2 separate regions of the Homo sapiens genome follow, and region 1 is linked to region 2. The links are contacts of gene promoters, found by promoter capture Hi-C in human tissues and cell types (Jung and others, 2019). All regions are on one chromosome and are shown on one strand. Each heading gives the region's core, a stretch centred on a gene start or on the middle of the fragment in contact. The rest is flanking DNA. Distances are from core to core; before and after follow the strand shown. Region 1 has its middle 160 kb from the start of LINC01085. Region 2 holds the start of BST1 (bone marrow stromal cell antigen 1).

Region 1 (2,700 bases), core at 139-2,638, 1.7 Mb after region 2:
TATTCCAGGTGCTTAGAGGTGATCTCCCAAGAGACAGTCAAGGCCCAAACCTTTCATTGCTCAAGGTTAGTCCTTTACTGTTCAGAACTGGTCGCATCTTGAAGTTCAGTAGAGCAGGGCTAACATCCTTCTGCTCCCACTTCCTGGCTGAGTGGCCTTGGGAAGATTCTTCAGGCTCTCTGAGCCTACTTTGCTTTACTTGCAACATGGAGATAATATCTTAGCTGACTGTTCGGAGCAAGGATGAAGCAAGGATGTGATAAACTGCAAAAGTAGTGAAAATTAGTTACATCCTGACTCAACCCAAAATGAACCAGAGGTTATTCTTGGGGGAAGATCATAGATTTGCAATACCTGGGGCATGTGCACTTGCAGAGAAAAATATCATTTCTATAGGGACACATCATCATTTCACTCAGCAGGCATTTCTGGGGTGCCTACGTGAGCCATATCCTGAAGAGGCAGGAATGAGAAAGGTACGTTTCTGGGCAAGTTGCTGTGATTTGGAAAGTGGTGGATGTAAGGATATTAGTTAGCCTGCAGATTAGCTCTGTCCCAGTGAGATGAGAAGCAATCTGCCTGTCCCAACTTTCCAAATGCCCAGTCAGCTTCTCTCACTAGGCACATCTCGTGGTTGCGCTCCGTGTGCTGGAATACACTATAACTGTGGCCCCCAAGCTTTTTGGCACCAGGAACCAGTTTCGTGGAAGATGATTTTTCCGTGGACTGTGGAGGGGGGCAGTTCAGGATGAAACTGTTCCACTCAGAACATTAGGCATTAGATTCTCATAAGGAACTCACAACCAAGATCCCTCACATGCTCAGTTCACAGTAGTATTCATGCTCCTATGAGAATCTAATGCCACCACTGATCTGACGGGTGGCAGAGCACAGGCAGTAATGCTCACTCACCCCCACCCCGCTCACCTTCTGGTGTGTGGCCCTGGTTCCTAACAGGCCATTGACCAGTACTAGTCTGTGGACTGGGGGTTGGGGACAACTGCTCTATAAGATACAATTGCTGGCCGGGCACGGTGGCTCGCACCTGTAATCCCAGCACTTTGGGAGACCGAGGAGGGCAGATCGCAAGGTCAGGAGATTGAGACCATCCTGGCTAACACAGTGATAACCCATCTCTACTAAAAAAAAATACAAAAAAATTAGCTGGGCATGGTGGCACATGCCTGTAGTCCCAGCTACTCGGGAGGCTGAGGCAGGAGAATCGCTTGAACCTGGAAGGTTGCAGAGAGCTGAGATCACGCCACTGCACTCCAGCCTGGGTGACAGAGAGAGACTCAGTCTCAAAACAAACAAACAAAAATACAATTGCTAGATATAATTGCTTTTTCTCCCCTTAACTACAACTTTAAAAAAATACCCTTAACAATGTAACAGCACACACACACACGTACACACACTTCTCATATTCTTAGAATATTGCTTTCACTTTATATACAACACCTGGCATCGGACAGCTTGGAGGAGGCGTTTTAAATATACTGTGCTCCCTTGCAGATGTTTTGAAAGCTAGTGGATTACAAAATATTAAATTGGAAAATTTTCCTTCTATGTTGTATTTTTGGGGGACTCAAAAATCTCTAGTCTCCAGGTCTTAAGACCTGTGATATAGTTTGGATGTGTGTCCCTGCCCAAATCACATATTGAAATGGAATCCCAAATGTTGGAAGTGGGGCCCATTGGGAAGTGTTTGGGTCATGAGGGGAGGCGGTTTCTCATGAATGCTTTAGCGCCATCTCCCTTGGTACTGTCCTCATGATAGTGAGTTCTCATGAGATCTAATCATTTAAAAGTGTTTAGCATCTCCCCACTCTCTCTCTTGCTCCTGCTTTCAGTCACGTGCCTGCTCCCTCCTTGCCTTCCTTTATGACTGGAAACTTCCTGAGGCCTCCCAGACGCAGAAGCCGCTATACCTTCTGTACAGCCTGCAGAACCATGAGCCAACTCAACTTCCTTTCTTATAAATTACCTAGTCTCAGGTATTTCTTTACAGCAATGCAAGAACAGACTAGTACAGCCAGTATAGTTTTGTGTCAGTCACTCATCAATTCAACAAAATTTTATTGAGTGCCTACTATGTGCTATCAGTATTATAAGCAATAGCAGGGAAAAAAACAAAAACAAAAAACAAACAGATGTTTAAAATCCCTGCCTTTGTGGCACTTACATTCTGGTGGACTCTGACAGAATATTGGCTTTGGAAAGTTATGCACTAAGCACAAGTCACTTATCAACTGTGAGACCCTGAGCACCTGACCAAATCCATCTGAGCCCCTTTCATCATTTTGAAACAGACCTAAAAATACCAGCTTCCTAGGGTTATTGTGAAAATAAACTAAGCAAACATAATAAAGCACCTAGAACAATTTTGGCTTATAGAAGCTGCTGGATGTCTATTAGGTTTTCTTTCCCTTCTACCATTTATTTCCAGGACCCCATGCTATACTGGTTATAAAGCCAAGGGAAGAGAAGGCATTATTAGGTGCAGATTAATTAGAAGGAAGACATGCTTGCCACTGGACAAACTCAGGTAAAACTTAGGTCTGGTGTCTTGACCTGCTTACCTACTATTTCATCTTTACTCACTCAAACAAAGAAGATACTGACAGATAGAAGGAAAGACTCCAGGGCATGGTGAGGAGACCTGATTTTAATTCTAGCTCCTCAAACAATAGCTATATA
Region 2 (2,814 bases), core at 5-2,504:
AGAACACACACCCCTCAACTCCAGAACACACACACACCCCTCACCTCTAGAACACACATACACACCTCATCTCTAGAACACACACTCTCCTCAGCTCTAGAATACACATACACCCCCTCACCTCTAGAACACACACACCCCTCACCTCTAGACCACACACACATCCCTCACCTCTAGACCACACACACATCCCTCACCTATAGACCACACACACACACCTGTCACCTCTAGACTACACACACACACCCCTCACCTCTAGAACACAGATACACACACACCTCTAGAACACATGCACGCACCCCTCACCTCTAGAACACACACACACACATCTCACCTCCAGAACACACACACCCCTCACTTCTAGAACACACACACCCCTCACCTCTAGAATACACACACCCCTCACCTCTAGAGCGCACGCACACACACCCCCTTCACCTCTAGAACACACATGCACACACCCCTCACCTCTAGAACACACATACAGACACCTCACCTCTGGAACACACACACCCCTTACCTCTAGAACACACACACACATCTCACCTTTAGAACACACACACACACCCCTCACCTCTAGAGCACACACACACACACACACCCCCACCTCTAGAGCACACACACACACATCCACCTCTAGAGCACACACACACCTCCCACCTCTAGAGCGCGCGCACACACACACCCCCCTCACCTCTAGAACACACGCACACACCCCTCACCTCTACAGTGTGTGTGTGCGCGCACACACACACACTCATCTCTAGACCCCGCACAGCGCACCCCTCACCTGCAGACACACTTCACAGCCCCCTCCTCACTCGCCCCCATCGTTCAGGACCATCGCTGTCTCCACACTCACCTCTCCCCTCAAGGCCTCTCTCATTGCCCCCTCACCCCGAACTTTAGCGCCAGTTTTCCCCTCCCCAGGCCCTCCCCACCGTTGCCTCTTTCCGGCTCCCCTTCCACCCGGCCGACTGCCTCACCGCTGCTCGGGACTCAGCAGTGCGCGGTACTCGGCGCAGCGGCCCAGGAAGATGTCCCGCAAGTGTGCGCTGGTGCCCTCCCCGCGCCACCGCGCGCGCGCCCCGCCCGCCGCCAGCAGCAACAGTAGAAGCAGAAGCTGCAGCAGCAGCTGGAGCAGCCGCGATGCCGCGCACCCCTGGGCCGCCATCGGGGAACTTTGGTCCCTCCAGTCCCGTGCTTCCTCCACTCCCCTTCTCTCCTTCTACCAAGGCGGTTCCGCAAACTGATGCAGGGCGGGACTCTCGCTCGGATATCTCGCTGTTTGCCGTTTCCCGTTCCAGACAATTTCAAGACTGAGCGTGGGGCGGGGCGCGGCGGCTCATGCCTGTAATCCCAGCACTTTGAGAGGCCTAGACGGGCGGATCGCTTGAGTATAGGAGTTCGAGACAAACCTGAGTAACATACAGGTGAGAAACCTCCTCTCTACAAAAAAATACAAAACTTAGCTGGTCCTGGTGGTGCGCATCTGTAGTCTCAGCTACCTGCGAGGTGAGATGTGAGGAGGCTTGACCCCAGGGGATCGAGGCTGCAGCGAGCAGTGATTGCACCACTGCACTCCAGCCCTGGGCGACAGAGTGAGACTCTGTCTAAAAAAAAAATTAATAAATAAATAAAATTAAAAAAGAGTGAGCTTGGAACATCACCCAGGACAGGACCAGTGCACTGTGGCCCAGGCTAATCTTGACCGCTGTCCACGGGGAGGGAGCCCCAAAGAAGCCGCAAGGTTGAAGGAGAGGTGAGGAGAGGTCAGTCATCATCAGAAGAAATACTTTTCTGGCTCCAAAGGACGACAACTTTGACAGATGCCCTCTTTCACACCAACCAATAAGTGGTGTTTGTTTGTTTTCAGGAAATAATAACCACAACAACGTGCCAAGCACTTTGCAAGTATAATATTAATTACTTTCCGCAACACCCTTCCTAGCTAAGTTTGTAATTTCTCTCGCTTTAGCAATGGATAAACTCAGGGAAGTTAAGCATGTTCGGCCCTCCAGATTTGCGGATTCATCATCCAAATTCAGCTAACCACGGATGAGAAACATTTGAGGAAAAAAAGAATGCTTGCATCTGTACGGAACATGTACGGACTTTTTTTTCCTTGTCATCATTCCCTAAATAATCCAATGTAACAACTACTTATGTAACAATTACATAGTACTTGATATTACAAGGAATCTGGAGATGACGTGAATTATAGAAGAGGATGTGCAAATACTGTATACTACACCATTTAATATAAGGGCCTTGAGCATCTGTGGATTTTGGTATCCAGGAGGTTCCTGGAACCAATTCTCCATGGATACCTACCGCCGACTGTAACTTGTCAGAGGTCACAATATCCCTTCCTGATAGATGCAAAATCCTGGAGATGTTCAGTTTAAGAGAGCCAGGATTGGCCGGGCGCGGTGGCTCACACCTGTAATCCCAGCACTTTGGGAGGCCGAGGCGGGTGGATCACGAGGTCAAGAGATCGAGACCATCCTTGCTAACACGGTGAAACCCCGTCTCTACTAAAAATACAAAAGATTAGCCAGGCGCGGTGGCGGGCGCCTGTTGTCCCAGCTACTCGGGAGGCTGAGGCGGGAAAACGGCGTGAACCCAGGAGGCAGAGCTCGCAGTGAGCCGAGATCGGGCCACTGCACTCCAGTCTGGGCAACAGAGTGAGACTCCGTCTCAAAAAAAAAAAAAAAAAGAGCCAGTATTAATAGAATACCACGTGGAGGCCCAAGTCCTCAATTCTTACAATAATGACAGCAATGAACTTTGAGTGCCTGGCAAGCACTTGAT

What was found. Contacts are between HindIII fragments. The study calls those that stand out against the background at their distance.
Region 1: a fragment that was not itself captured here is called in contact with the fragment with the promoter of BST1 in region 2 in 1 of the 25 tissues and cell types used here (dorsolateral prefrontal cortex).

Annotation. Positions count from the first base shown.
Region 1 is chr4:13,953,917-13,956,616 of GRCh38, reverse strand. No RefSeq gene overlaps it. Among named protein-coding and RNA genes, the nearest start is that of LINC01085, 160 kb to the left of the region's middle. The HindIII fragment of the contact is 5,999 bases long and covers 1-2,700 here.
Region 2 is chr4:15,701,505-15,704,318 of GRCh38, reverse strand. It overlaps BST1 (bone marrow stromal cell antigen 1), which reads right to left and starts at 1,254. Exons shown (of 9, transcript NM_004334.3): 1 at 987-1,254. The coding sequence starts at 1,174. RefSeq lists a silencer at 1,236-1,315. The HindIII fragment of the contact is 14,003 bases long and covers 1-2,814 here.